Linked DNA regions of Homo sapiens: region 2 is linked to region 1. Evidence: promoter capture Hi-C in 16 types of primary human blood cells and fetal thymus (Javierre and others, 2016). All regions are on one chromosome and are shown on one strand. The core of a region is centred on a gene start or on the middle of the fragment in contact, and the rest is flanking DNA. Distances in the headings are between cores, read along the strand shown. Region 1 holds the start of RHOB (ras homolog family member B). Region 2 holds the start of LOC105373456 (a long non-coding RNA gene).

Region 1 (7,434 bases), core at 2,000-4,499:
GAACTGCTTGAACCCAGGAGGCCGAGGTTACAGTGAGCCAAGATCATACCACTGCACTCCAGCCTGGGTGACAGAGTAGGACTCTGTCTCAAAAAATAAAATAAAATAAAATGACTTGTTCTCATAGAAGAATCAAATTTTATCCCTGTCTGAGGAAGTGTATTATGAAGGGCAAGGGACAGGGAGGGGCTTGTCCGGCATATCACCTAGTTGGGAAAAGTTTATCCTGTGTGTGGGGCAGTCTTGGAAGCAGCCAGTCTCTGCAGAGCTTGTCAAAGTATCCTGGACTAAAAAAAAAAAAATACCATGAAAAGAAGTTACTAAAGAAGTTACTGCAGAACACAGATCTATTTGTTTACTTTGGCATTTTTACCAACTGCATAGTTTTAGAAATTATTGCAATATTGAGATTTGAGCTTGGAACACCTCATATAATATTCCTGGAAATCAGAACACGAAGGAGTTCAATCCGTTTTCCGGATTCTTTGTTTTTTAAAGAAAAAAACACATGGTACAAAGCTTTGTTTCATATTTCTTGGTATTTGAAGTTTAAGGACATAGCCAAGTTTCCCAAGCTATATTAAGACCAAGGAAAGCGGCGTTAACAATACAGCTATAAAAGGTTTTGACTAAAAGAAGAAAAATTTGTGTAAATAAGACTTTTCTAATAGGAAAAAAAAAAAGCTTCCAGATTGCATCCTTAAATCAATGAACAGAAAAACTATTTACTTGCTGACAGATCAGTTCCTTAGATCTGAAAAACAAACCCCCGCCCCCCACCGCCCCGGCCAACAACAACAAAAAAAAGCTGGTTGGCCGGTTGTTGTAGTGATGTGAATCCAGTCTGAGGGAAGCACAGCACTTCCAGTCGTCTAAATAAGACGTTCCCTCTAGGAAGGGCTCTAGGCTTAGCAGCACTACTGCCTTATTTGATCTGATTTCATCTGTGGAGCCATATGGGGACCTAGCTCTTAACATATGAATTACATGTGAAAACACCGGGGTTCAGTCACAGTTGGCTGCATGGGTTTGCTTAATGATTTTCTTTTTAATGTTTACTTTTTTTTTTTCTTTTGAGCCAGGGTCTCATTCTGTCACCCAGGCTGGAGTGGGGTGTTGTGATCATAGCTCACTGCAGCCTTGCCCTCCTGGGCTCAAGCAATCCTCCCACCTCAGCCTCCTGAGTAGTTGAGATTATAGGTGCAGGCCACTCTCCTCCCCACGCCATCCCATTTTATTTTTCTCAGGGACAGGGACGGGGTTTTGTCATGTTACCCAGGCTGGTCTTGAACTCCTGAGCTCAAACAATTCTCCAGCCTGGGCCTCCCACGCCCAGGGATCACAGGCATGAGGTACTGTGCCCGGCCTGGTTAGATAATTGTTAAAGCGAAGTGTGGAACTGAGGTAAGAAACCCCCAGAAAATTCCACCTGCGTTTCTGAGCATTCGGGTTAATTCCCCACAGTCATTTACTGATCCTTGTAAATGCCAGGCATTGTGCTGGGTCTTCAAGATGCGGAGATAAGACAGAATCCTGGCCCTCCAACAACTGACAGAGACCGAGACAGAGACGGAGACAGGAGGCAACCACCTCCCGGTCATGTGGTGGGTCCCTCCTTTGCTGAAAAAACAGTTTGCAGACATTTCCCATGCAATGGATAGACAGAGCCCAGCCCATGCTGTTAATACTTTAGCACTCATGAGCCCCAGCATATGCAGCTCCTAGAGTTTGCCCCGCTCCTTCCCACCTTCCTGCTTGTGTTCAGGCTGTTTCTCCTGCCCGGGAGCCCTCCCCGACTCCCCTTTCCCCCTATCCCCTTCTTCCTCTTTTATCCGTAGAAATCGGTTGACTTGGGTCTTTCCGGATCACCGGTACTGTCATTTCATGCAGGATCTACAGGATAAATGAGTTCAGTCCTGGCGTGCATCAGGAGGCTACGCCCCAATAGAGGGGACACCCCCTAACCCGCTGTGCCCCATTTGCTAGCCCCTTACTCCTCCCCTCTTCTCCAGCCTCAAGCCTTTTCGTCTGCTCAGGGGTCTTGGGGTGGTTGGATTCTATTGAACCCGGAATATTGTACGTTCTATTGTACAATAGTGTATATTCTATTGTACATTCTATTGTACAATAGTGTATATTCTATTGTACATTCTATTGTACAATAGTGTATATTCTATTGTACATTCTATTGTACAATAGTGTATATTCTATTGTACATTCTATTGTACAATAGTGTATATTCTATTGTACATTCTATTGTACAAGTGTATATTCTATTGTACATTCTATTGTACAATAGTGTATATTCTATTGTACATTCTATTGTACAATAGTGTATATTCTATTGTACATTCTATTGTACAATAGTGTATATTCTATTGTACAATTTATCTCAGACAGTTCTCTGTTTTAAGAACCGGGATCAGAGTTCATAGTGAAAAGAGGGGCCGAAGGGGCTTCTTCCTGTCCGGTAACTTCCTCCAAGTGTTCGAGCCTCGACCTTCCCTTTCCGTTGTCAAGCTTGGGCCACTCCGCACCTCTTCCCTTAATCTTCACCTAGAGACCTAAGCTGGGGGTTGGGAAGGGTAGGGGCGGCGGGACTTGGAAGAGCCAGTTTGCAGCCAGCCGGTCGCCTCTCGGGTCCAAACCCGAGGCTGGCCCACGGCGAGTACCCGGGTGGGGCCCTAAACCACAGGAGGGGCCACCTCCAAAAGAAAAGAGAAAACACTCTTGTTTGGGAACAAAAGTGTGTGTGTGGGGTGTGTGTGTGTGTGTGTGTGTGTGTGTGTCTGTTTATTTAAAAACAAAACCACGTTAAAAGAGCTGCCCCTCCCCCACAGGCCCGACCACCCGCCGGGAGTTTGCCAGGAAGAGGGGCAATTCTGAATGGGAGTCGCCAACGCCCCACTGAGTGAAGCCTGTCTCGGAACCGCTCGCCCAGACCCTGGAGGCTCCAGACAGCCAGCTCCCGGACCCCGCGCGCAAACGCTGCGGCGAAGGAGGGGACCCGGGTACCGCCAGAGCCCCGCAGCGGCAGCAGCAGCGCGGACTCCCCGGTCGCTGCCTCTCCCAGCCCGGCGGCCTGGGCCGTCAATCAAGCTGGCCCTGCCCCGCCCTCGGGCTGCAGGGGGCGGCCAATCAGAGCTAAGCTCCGCAGCGATGAGCTCAGCCGGCTGGTTTCCCATTGGACGGCTATATTAAGAAAGTGGCCGGACTCTTTAAATAGCGGGCGCTAGGGCCGCAGCCCTCATCTGCCACCGCAGTCTGGTTGGAGCTGTTGTCTTGTATGCTCAGCGAGGCCCGGAGAGACCCGGGAGAGAGCTAGGCCGAGTCCACCGCCCGAGTCTGCTGCCCGAGCCCGCGTTACGCACAAAGCCGCCGATCCCCGGCCTGGGGTGAGCAGAGCGACCACCGCCCGGGAGCAGCGCGGCGAGACGCACGGTGCGCCCTATGCCCCCGCGCCCCCACCGCCCCCGCCGCGGCAGCCGAAGCGCAGCGAGAGAACGCGCCACCGCGGGGCCCGGGTGCAGCTAGCGACCCTCTCGCCACCTGCGCGCAGCCCGAGGTGAGCAGTGAGCGGCGAGCGGGAGGGCAGCGAGGCGTTCGCGGGCCCCCTCCTGCTGCCCGGGCCCGGCCCGCTCATGGCGGCCATCCGCAAGAAGCTGGTGGTGGTGGGCGACGGCGCGTGTGGCAAGACGTGCCTGCTGATCGTGTTCAGTAAGGACGAGTTCCCCGAGGTGTACGTGCCCACCGTCTTCGAGAACTATGTGGCCGACATTGAGGTGGACGGCAAGCAGGTGGAGCTGGCGCTGTGGGACACGGCGGGCCAGGAGGACTACGACCGCCTGCGGCCGCTCTCCTACCCGGACACCGACGTCATTCTCATGTGCTTCTCGGTGGACAGCCCGGACTCGCTGGAGAACATCCCCGAGAAGTGGGTCCCCGAGGTGAAGCACTTCTGTCCCAATGTGCCCATCATCCTGGTGGCCAACAAAAAAGACCTGCGCAGCGACGAGCATGTCCGCACAGAGCTGGCCCGCATGAAGCAGGAACCCGTGCGCACGGATGACGGCCGCGCCATGGCCGTGCGCATCCAAGCCTACGACTACCTCGAGTGCTCTGCCAAGACCAAGGAAGGCGTGCGCGAGGTCTTCGAGACGGCCACGCGCGCCGCGCTGCAGAAGCGCTACGGCTCCCAGAACGGCTGCATCAACTGCTGCAAGGTGCTATGAGGGCCGCGCCCGTCGCGCCTGCCCCTGCCGGCACGGCTCCCCCTCCTGGACCAGTCCCCCGCGAGCCCGGAGAAGGGGAGACCCGTGTCCCACAAGGACCCCACCGGCCTGCCTGGCATCTGTCTGCTGACGCCTCTGGCTTGCGCCAGGACTTGGCGTGGGCACCGGGCGCCCCCATCCCAGTGTCTGTGTGCGTCCAGCTGTGTTGCACAGGCCTGGGCTCCCCACTGAGTGCCAAGGGTCCCCTGAGCATGCTTTTCTGAAGAGCCGGGCCTCAGAGTGTGTGGCTGTGTGTCTGTTCGACTCCCCTCGCCCCATTTTCACCCCACCCCCGCCTCTGATCCCCGGGGGCGAGATTGGCGCGGGAGTGTGGCCGCGCCCCATCAGATGTTCGCCCTTCACCAGCGGGAGCTTGATATCCCTTGTCTGTAACATAGACCCCGGGTACTGCGGGAGGGGAGGGCTGCTGGGGAGGATGGGGGGATGTTATATAAATATAGATATAATTTTATTTTCGGAGCTAAGATGGTGTTATTTAAGGGTGGTGATGGGTGAGCGCTCTGGCCCAGGCTGGGCCAGACTCCCGCCCAAGCATGAACAGGACTTGACCATCTTTCCAACCCCTGGGGAAGACATTTGCAACTGACTTGGGGAGGACACAGCTTCAGCACAGCCTCTCCTGCGGGCCAGCCCGCTGCGAACCCTCCACCAGCTACCGGAGGGAGGAGGGAGGATGCGCTGTGGGGTTGTTTTTGCCATAAGCGAACTTTGTGCCTGTCCTAGAAGTGAAAATTGTTCAGTCCAAGAAACTGATGTTATTTGATTTATTTAAAGGCTAAAATTTGTTTTTTTATTCTTTGCACAATTGTTTCATTGTTTGACACTTAATGCACTCGTCATTTGCATACGACAGTAGCATTCTGACCACACTTGTACGCTGTAACCTCATCTACTTCTGATGTTTTTAAAAAATGACTTTTAACAAGGAGAGGGAAAAGAAACCCACTAAATTTTGCTTTGTTTCCTTGAAGAATGTGGCAACACTGTTTTGTGATTTTATTTGTGCAGGTCATGCACACAGTTTTGATAAAGGGCAGTAACAAGTATTGGGGCCTATTTTTTTTTTTTCCACAAGGCATTCTCTAAAGCTATGTGAAATTTTCTCTGCACCTCTGTACAGAGAATACACCTGCCCCTGTATATCCTTTTTTCCCCTCCCCTCCCTCCCAGTGGTACTTCTACTAAATTGTTGTCTTGTTTTTTATTTTTTAAATAAACTGACAAATGACAAAATGGTGAGCTTATGATGTTTACATAAAAGTTCTATAAGCTGTGTATACAGTTTTTTATGTAAAATATTAAAAGACTATGATGATGACATTTATAAAATGGCTCTTGTGGTTTAATAGTGTGTAAAAATACCCTTGTGAATTTGGAACAAGGGAGATATTCTCCTAGGCGAGATCCTTTCTTGCCAACTCCGTTTCCCTTATAGCAAATGTAGTAAATGAGGATGAAGTCCCTTTGAGAGCATGTGGGGGTTGGGTGACCAAGGGAGACCAGGTTGTTCCTGTCACATTCCTAGAGGAAGATGAGTGGATACCCCGACACCCAGTGCAAAAACTTTTGACCTATTATGTACTCAGTTCAATTGGGTGAGACCGAAGATCTTGATTTCATTCATCTGTGTGTCTTAAAAACACTTGTGTCTTTAAGTCTATTATGGGGCTTTGCTTATTCTTTGAGTCTTGGAAAGTTATCATTTGTGCATTTTAAATTTAGAAAACCTTTATTAATCGTTGGTGTGGGGTCACGCTATCAGGAAGCCTGTTTACTGGGTTCCCTTCAGGCCATCAAGGGGTTTACACAATATCCCAGGAAGTTGTAGGTTGTTATCTTTGGGCCTGGAGCTTCCAGAAGTGGGGGAGTTCAGATAAAGAGGTGATTTTTTAAAATTATCAAGCTTTGATCCCAATATGTCCTTTATTAAGTAACCTAGAATGATTTATTCTAAGTTCAGAGAAGGGCCATATTGTGGAAAGAACATTGGATGTTTTGGTGGTTCTTAAAGTTGGAGCTGCCACTTTTTGAGAGTCATGATAAACTCTAATCGTAGACACTTAGCTTTGCTGTAATGGTTCTTAGAACCAGACGGGCTGATTTATAGGTGGAGACCACATTAAAATTCTGCTGCAGGCATGATGGTTCAAACCTGCCAGCTCTCGCAGCTTCCAGGGAAGGTAGCTGAGAGTGTCAACTGCCTGAGAAGTGTGGTTTTCATTTTTTTTGAATCAGCATTTTCTGGGTTTCTAGCACTTAGTTGCCACCTTCTCCTTCCCCCTCCTCCCCATTCCCAGGACAAAGGTGGAGGTCTCCTTTGAAGTTGTTTGCTTCAAAGCTTGAGGCTTCTGTTTCCTGGTCTTACCCCAGACTCCAAGAGCTTTTGTTGAGTGAATAAAACCTGGTTGGTGGTGACCTTTCACCCACTTAAATGCTGGCAGTAACTGGACCTCCTGCTCAGCTGGGTGGGTGCATTGACTAACAGAAGGGGATTGTCTGGGCTCCTCCAGGAGCAGAGGGGAGAGGGGTCTATCCAGGCTGCCTGCTTTGAGCAACTGCCTAACTCCTTCCTCAGTCCCTCGGCCCCACTCACCTCCAGACTGCAGTCTCCTTTTTCATTTTAAAGACAAAACTTCCCATCGACAAACAGCATGTTTATTTGCAGCTTTTACAGCTAGCAAATCCTTTGGTACCAGGGAGCGCAGGACCCAGTGGGGGAAGAGTTCAGGCTTGGGCTGAATGCCCAGGACTCAGCTTTGCAACCAGCCAAGAGCCTGGAGGCCCAACTCCCTGAAAGGGCCTTTTCTGGGTTGCTCTGATCTGCCTGGTACCCATAACTGTCTGTGTTTTATATTATGGGCAGACAAACACTCAGATGACGCATGGCAGCCCAAGTTATGCTTGTTTGAAAATGCGTGGCATTTCATAATCCTGCCGGAACACACTCTTCTTGCTGCATTAGGATCCAACTGGAAAACATAAAGATGAATTGCTGTAGGCTGGAAAATCAATTAGGAAAAAGAGGTAAAACATCTGGTGTTACTCTTAGAATATGAAAATTCATTTTGCACATTTAAAATAAATGTGTTGAGTTGATTTAATTGCCTGTTGAACTGTTTCGTGGAAAATACTGGGAAGTTGC
Region 2 (7,434 bases), core at 2,151-4,650, 1.9 Mb before region 1:
GGGAAATATTTCTGGCCTAAGGGCATCATGAAAAAATTACTGAGAAAATTTGGGAACCTCTTCTCTAGACTCAAGAGACTCTACGTCATATAGGCACCTTTCTTGTCCCAGCTAATTTTAAATTTCACTCTTCTGAACAAATGCCCTCTGAATGCCAGTTATCCCTGCAAGAAACTCTTCTACCTCAATCTCAACGGAGAACATCCACTTATGTGGAATTACTTACCATTTGCACAAAGAAATCCTCACACCTCACTGCCAGGCAGCAGGAGGAAAGAACAAGGGTTAAAAGCAAGTGTTCTGGAGACAGACCACAAGCAAGTTTCTTAGCCTTCCTATGCCTCAGTTTCCTCGCGTTGTAAAACAGGGATGATAATAATGCCTACTCCACAGGGTTACTGTGTAGCTTCAATGACAGTTATAGGCAAGGACACTTCATTTTCATTTAAGACAAAAAGGAAAATCTGAAATGCTTGGCACAGCTCCTGGCATACAGATCTTCAATAATGCTGGGTGTTATTTTTATTCCTGTCTCTGTATGGAGCATGACCACTGGGTTCCAAAATGTATTCTACTTGGAAATCAGGCCACAGTCCCGTTAAGGATGGTGCTGAGTTTACTGGTGGCAGCGAGCTCCTTACCCCAGCAGAAAAGGGGCAGAGGCCGGGGGAAGGAGAACTTTTTTTAAAGGACTGATATGAGGTCCTTAGCTAGCAACTTCCCCCAGTGCTCAGGGGTTCTGAAGACACAGCTTGGTGCAAATTCACTTCTGACACAGGAAAAACAATTCAGAGGCCATGGATCTACTTCGGGGCGGTCCTCACGTAACGAAATGAAACGTTCAGAAACTGGTTTATTTATTTTTCTCTTGGGCCCATTTCTTTTTCGACATCCTTAGAGGACAGAAGGCAGCCCTCCCAGTTAGTTTCTCTTTCCCTCTCAACCCTGCAGCTTCCCGGCCGCCTCAAAGTGGCTTTTTGGACTCCTCTCAGCCTCAGCGGTTCCCAAGGTGACACCCTGAACCCCAGGGCGGTCCCTCGCGGCTCAGCCCCAGCCCGCAGTCCCCTCCCACACCGTGCCCAGGCCCTCCCCACCAGCCCGGCCCCCCGAGGCCCACACCTGGAGCATTTCCTGGCAGAAGGCGCGCACCGAGCGCAGCGAGGCGAGGTCCAGCTCCCGGACTATGAGCTCGCCCACCCCGCTGACGCCAGGCTCTGGGCCGCACTCCGCGGCCTGGCGGAGCTCGCGGCGGAGCTGACCCGCCGCCTCCTCGGCGCGCGCGCGGTCCCGGCAGCCCATGATCACCCGCGCTCCCAGGCGCAGTAGCTCGGCGGCCGTGGCGCGGCCCAGGCCGCTGTTCGCCCCGGTGATCAGCACAGTCTTCCCGTGCATGAGGCCGGGGTCCCCGCCTCTGCGCAGCCGCTGGACCCTGGGCCCCACGAACCGGCGGGCCGCCAGCCACAGCGCCCCGCCCAGAGCGGCCAGTACTGCCGCCGCAGTGGCCACTGCCATCGTCAGGCCCGAGGGCCCACCGGCCCCTCCACGGGAGTTCCGCAGCCGCCGCCTTACCGGAACCCAAGAGACCACCTGTACGCGGAGAACGCTGGGGCGCGGCGGGTCGGCCCCTGACGGTGCGCGTGGGGCATGCTGGGACTTGTAGTTTCCCTCTGGGGGGGTCGCCTGATTGGTTGTGAGAGTTCAGCGCCCTGGGTCCTGCGCCCTCCGTGGAAGCTCCTCCCAGCCTAATGATGGAGGCTGGGCAACCAGCACAGTGTTCAGGGTGCTGGGGTTCATACGTATTGAAATCCCAGAGTAGTGGCGGACTTCCCCATGGGAATGTCTGATGAGTACTTTGAATCACAGATCTCTGTACAGGCCCTGTTACAAATGCCACTCCTCAGGGCATTTCGTGTGTTTTCCTTTGAGGGCTCTTGGGACTTGTAAATTCAGTTCAATTCACCTTCTGAGGAATGGGCCCTGACAAGCTGAAGTCTGAGGTAGGACTGTTTTTCATAGATGAGACAAAGAATTAAGCAACATGAATCAGTTGGAAATAGAATGGTCGAGTAGTTCTCAAACTTAAATGCACATCAGAATCACCTGGAGGACTTGGGGTGGGGGTTCGGGGTGGGGGAATGAAACAAAACGAAAACAAAAAACCAGGGCCCCAGTATTAGAGTTTCTAATTCAATAGGTACAGGATGGGGCCTGATAATTTGCACTTTTAACAAGTTTCCAGGTGCTGCTGCTGCTGCAGATCTGGGAACCACACTTTGAGAACCACTGAACAAGACATTATGTCATTGGTCCCTATTAAAAAAAAGAAAGCCATCTTCAAATGATCTTCACACTGGCAGAGGTACAGTGGGAAAAGCTTGGACTTATTGTAAATATAGGCTTCTGAGCAGGCCATTTACAAATGCCTCCCTGCCCTCTCCATAGGACTATTACACACAACGATGGAAGGCAAAGTGCTTGGCTCACTGTAAAATGCCTCATTAATATCAGGGTTAGTGTCACAGGGACCCTTCTTCAAGCTACAAACTTCATAGCTGTAGACCAAGCTACTTTTAAAGACTCATTCGTTCGTCTGCCTCTCCATCCAATATGTGCCTGGCCCTGCCTGTTCCCTGTTAGAGCCACAGAGAAATGGGACACCATTTCTGCTCTCAGGGTGCTTACTTTCTGGAACTGTGATCTCCCACTTCCCACCCTCCACCCATTGCAGGTTCTCCAGACAAGGAAAAAGAACCACAGCTTGTGTCGTTTGAGACAAACTCCCCAATAATTGTGATAATCCATCTTCCACTCCCTTACATTTGGGAAGGATGTAACATGCAACTAATAGTCAGAATACAAAGAAAAAGGGATGGATTCCAGGAGGTTTCTTATGAGTAATGAGAATGGAGCTCAGAGGTGGGAAAGAGCACTCTTACTGGGGATTATACAAGGCACCAGGAACAGGAATCATGAGAGGTGGTCCTACACCACCCTATCCCCAATTTGAAGCTGCTACTCAAACTCATTGATCCCCCAGCATATGTTTCCACTTTATTGTCCTTTCTACCCATCCACATCTTGCCCATCCATCAAAATCACAGGCTACCTCAAGTCTTTCTTTCCTGACCACTTCCAGCCTATAAAGATCTCTGCTCCCTTCATGTGTGACCCTCAGGGTCATGTGTGACCCTCACTGGCACTGAAGACAAACAGCCTTCTAGTATTGGCTGTTTGAGTTTGCACATTTGACTTCCTTGACCAGATTGTTAAGGTTTCAAGTTTCCTAGAGGATAGGATTGTGTCTGCGTACCTCTTGTGGTCTTTGCATGGGAGGACACCTACAAAATGGTAGGTACTCAGTGTCACATGTCACAACTGATATATTTTGGACTGGTTTACATAAAATTAGGGAGCATCAGAAGATGTGTTTCAGCTGTGGTCTTCTCTCATCTAGAGCCAGGGGTGGAATACATATGTACAGGTGGAGTAGAGATGAAGGTGGAGGTAGAGAGAGCAGGAGAGGGTAGGAGGAAAAGAGGAGGGAGGAATCCTTAGACCTGCAGTGTAACTGCTGTGTAGTTTATGCATGGAACTTAATGAAATGATTAATCTGTACCAGATGGGTCCAAAGGCCATGAAATTAATAACTCTATTTGGAAGGGAGGAAAGAGACCTCATTATAACTTATGAAGTAAGATTTGAATTTGAATCTAATTAGTCTTAACACTTATTAGCTCCATATCCTTAAACAAGCTGTCTAATCTTTTTGAATCTTAGGCTCCTCATTGATAAAAAGGAAGGTAATAATAATACTATGTCACAAACATTTAATTTGATAAGAAAATGAAGTAACATGTGAAAATAACCAGGTCACTGTGCCTAACATATGATATATTTAATGACCAACCAATTTTTGTTGAAAACAAAACAAAAATCATGAGAGAATGACAATGAAGGGCCAGGATACTACACTTCATGTCACTTTTTGAAGTGGTAGCGTAGGGTCTTTTTTTTTTTTTTCCATACAAATATGGATGTGCCAGCCTGCCAGGCCCAAAGCCGGAGACTTCAAATATGAAACTCTGTGGATCAGAGGCATTTAACCCACCAAATAATTTTCAGAGAACCTTTCTTAGGGGTTTCTGTTTAAGGCTTATCTTAGAAAGTACCCTGGAGGAACAACCAGATGATTTATTTCTAAATGAGCAGTATCAAAATTGTTATACTCATGCAGGTAGAGTGAAATTCTCATTTTGCTTTGGTTACAAAGCTAGCCATAGCAGTCACAGAATACAAAGCTCCAGTTTTCAAGAGTGTGCTTAACCATACTCCTTCTACCTTTGAAGACACTATTCTACAATGCTGATGGGTAACAATTCATTGTTATCTACAAACATCCAAAAATGAGCAGTGTTTATAAAACTAAGTAAGCTTCTAAAACAGTGCCTTAAGCATGCAAATATTCAAGTTCTAAACTTATCCTAAAGAGTCATCATTATGACTTACACAGAGATAGGTGTAATGGCATTCAACAGTATTGGTAGTTCAAAGAGAAGTAGTTTGATGGTAACTTGAGGGTTCAAAAGGTTTTCCAAAAAATCAGGAGAAAACCTTTCCAAAGAAGCAAAGTTTTAAGGTCCAATTTTCTGAAATACCTATCTAATTATCCTAGAGAGCCAAAAGAAGTGGCTTCTGTAACACCAGACTATCACCACTTTATTTCTCCTCCCTGCCCCTAACTACTGAATTTTTTATTAAAGCCATAAGCTGCGATGGAACCTAACCTCTGTGCCCCTTCAATGTGGAACATGTGGTCATCAAAGAAGATGTGGGGCCGGATCTTCACCAAGATGGGACTTTTGGGGGCTCCAGCAAGGAAAAGAGCTTCGTCTATCTCTAGACCCCAGCGTCGAAGGGTCTTCAGCACACGGGCGCCTGAACTGGCTGCACTCCTAGCTGTAACCAGGTAGGTCCTGATAGGACAAAGTAACCGTTCATTTTTGGCATAGAACTTCTTTTGCAGTCTGCCTAAATCTTCCAGAAAGCCTTTTAGGGGACCCTGTAAAAGGAACATATATCACAGCTGTGATACAGTGAGCCAAAGAAAGTGAATGCTAAAAAGCAGAGACCTATATGATACGATACAATACAAAGGATATAATACAGCATGACATGCAGTGTTATGAAGCTGATGGCAAAATGCTAAAACTTGATAGGAATTTATGTGAATATGTTTTCTGATATAGAACCATCCTTGCATTCCTGGAATGTGCCTAAAATGACCATATTATTTAACATGTAAACCTATATACTTTAGGTATGAAAGAATGTTCAATAAATACTTAAGCCAGGACAACAGACATAAACTATCCATGGTAAGCTGGAATAGAGGGTCACTCTAAATAAACTCTAATTAGTTACCAAAGCACTACTCTTTTAATTTGCTTTTTGTGAATTGTGCATTTTAACTTTATGAAGTATATGCTTTTGTCTAGTTTAATGCTGTTTGGCTTGAATCTAACTGTGTCTTTCATTTTTAACCTTTCCAAACACTTGGTTTTAGTATCTCTTGTACAGAGCCTAGAATTGGATTTTGCTATGTGATACAACCTGAAAATCTTATTTTTTAAAACAATAGTTAAGTTTTTGTTCATTTACATTTATTCATATTACAAACATACTTGAGATTGTTTCTGTCTTATGGTTTTTATTGCATTTTCCATGTTTTAAAATTTTTAAAGGATTGTTCAATAATCTGTGTCTTTCTTCTTTGTAGTTGTGTGTGGGTGGTTCTTCTGACATTTAAGAAGGTTTACATTATTTCCTTCTATAAATTACCTTTACAACTATAACCTTTTATAGTACCCTCAGTCCTCTATTTTAAAAAGAATCCCAGATCTATTATTCTTCATAATGAGAAATAATGAAAGCAGGGCATTTCTTCAATGTCTCTGTAGTCCTCTATTTCTTCTCCACCATCTAATTTTAGTCATTTATTTACTTTTCCTTGGTGTTTCTTTTGCATTATTACATTTTGTTTTATTTCTGTTTATCAAGTTTACATTTCATCCTTTGATTGGCTATTGTAACTGAAAATTCCAGCATACTTCTTCCGTAGACCTTCTTTCCCCATATTTTTCCATTTTTTGTTAGTTACATAATTTGTACATCATACAAATTTGTTCATTTGTACGGTTGTTTTAGTTTTAATTCTATGGTTAAGTATATTATATGACCATTTGTGCCTTTGTGCTTCTAGTCCTCTGCATGTTGGCCGAAATTTGTCCTGTAGTACTGATTTTCTCAAAAACATCTTATGGTAATAATCCCTGAGAATATAGTATATTCTCAACTATATATCTATTTCCTCTGTCCTTGAATAAACTTTTGGCTAGATATAGAATCCATGATTTACATATAAGATTCTCCACAAGATCTTATAAGTAGTGCTCCACTGTCTTTTGCTTTTGAATGCTGCTCTTGAGAAGTTTGAGGGCCTCTTGATTGCCATGCCACCTCTTCCATCACTTACATGAGTAGGCAGCCCAGATAATTATTTCTTCATTTTGAAGCCCAGTAATTTCACTAGGCCATGTCTCAGTGATGGTCATTTTGATTCTATACCTCTGTCATACAATATGGGCTTTTAATCTTTAATATTTTAATCATTTAATATATATAAACATCTTTGATAATTTAGCAGTTTTTAATTTATATTTTTACATTAATTTGCATCTTTATATTTAACATCAGTCCCCCTCCCCCAACATGATTTTAAAGTTTTTCTTCAGGGATTCTACTTAGGCATATGCTGGGTCTTCTTTACCTGTTATCTATTTCTGTCATTTTTCTATATGTAATTGTATTTTTAACAGTAACAGATGGGTAATAACTCTATTGGAAGGGACGAAAGATTTACAGCATTCTATAACTTTCACATTTTATCATGTCTTCCTTGACTATTGCATTTTTACTTTATGATCTTGCTTTAAGTCTTTAAAAGTCATGGCAAATGTTCAGTCATAATTATCTGTATTATGTCAACTTTTTCTTGTAAGAGCTCTTCATCTGTTATTAGATTTTTTTCTTTTTTAATCTGCCTTTTTCTCATAGTATCTTTGAATGTATTCAATGTCAGCTCTCTTTTTATTATTACTTATACTGAAGTAGACTGGTTTTTCTTGGGATAATTGGTGGGTTTCTAGGGGAAGGTCAAGGGTAGTATTTGGAGACTGACTTGTTTTCATGATTCAAAGGCTCCCTTCTTTGCTGTCATGGAAACAAACAGTTTTCTGTAAACATGACTTATTGTGTAACCATTTGCTTAAATTTTCTTTAAGGTTGTATATCTTAGAAAAAAACAAGTAAATTTGCTTTCTCACGGTAAGAGGCCATACATATAGGTGAAAAAACTGGGACTGTTTTTATGACAAA

The links. Contacts are between HindIII fragments. The CHiCAGO score rates a contact against its expected background, and 5 or more counts as called.
Region 2: a fragment that was not itself captured here is called in contact with the fragment with the promoter of RHOB in region 1 in 1 of 17 cell types (activated CD4 T cells); the score reaches 6.9 in activated CD4 T cells.

The regions. Positions count from the first base shown.
Region 1 is chr2:20,443,825-20,451,258 of GRCh38, forward strand. It overlaps RHOB (ras homolog family member B), which reads left to right and starts at 3,250. Exons shown (of 1, transcript NM_004040.4): 1 at 3,250-5,616. The coding sequence starts at 3,642. The coding sequence ends at 4,232. RefSeq lists silencers at 2,959-3,208, 3,459-3,668 and an enhancer at 6,377-6,938. The HindIII fragment of the contact is 3,675 bases long and covers 2,519-6,193 here.
Region 2 is chr2:18,559,061-18,566,494 of GRCh38, forward strand. NT5C1B-RDH14 (NT5C1B-RDH14 readthrough) reads right to left here. Exons shown (of 11, transcript NM_001199104.2): 10 at 4,785-5,059. It overlaps NT5C1B (5'-nucleotidase, cytosolic IB), which reads right to left. Exons shown (of 9, transcript NM_033253.4): 9 at 3,811-5,059. The coding sequence ends at 4,736. LOC105373456 (a long non-coding RNA gene) reads left to right here and starts at 1,116. Exons shown (of 6, transcript XR_007086234.1): 1 at 1,116-1,631; 2 at 4,761-4,966. RDH14 (retinol dehydrogenase 14) reads right to left here and starts at 1,593. Exons shown (of 2, transcript NM_020905.4): 1 at 1,120-1,593. The coding sequence starts at 1,512. RefSeq lists enhancers at 753-802, 1,613-1,662, 1,723-1,772, 1,783-2,002 and a silencer at 1,013-1,522. The HindIII fragment of the contact is 2,057 bases long and covers 2,373-4,429 here.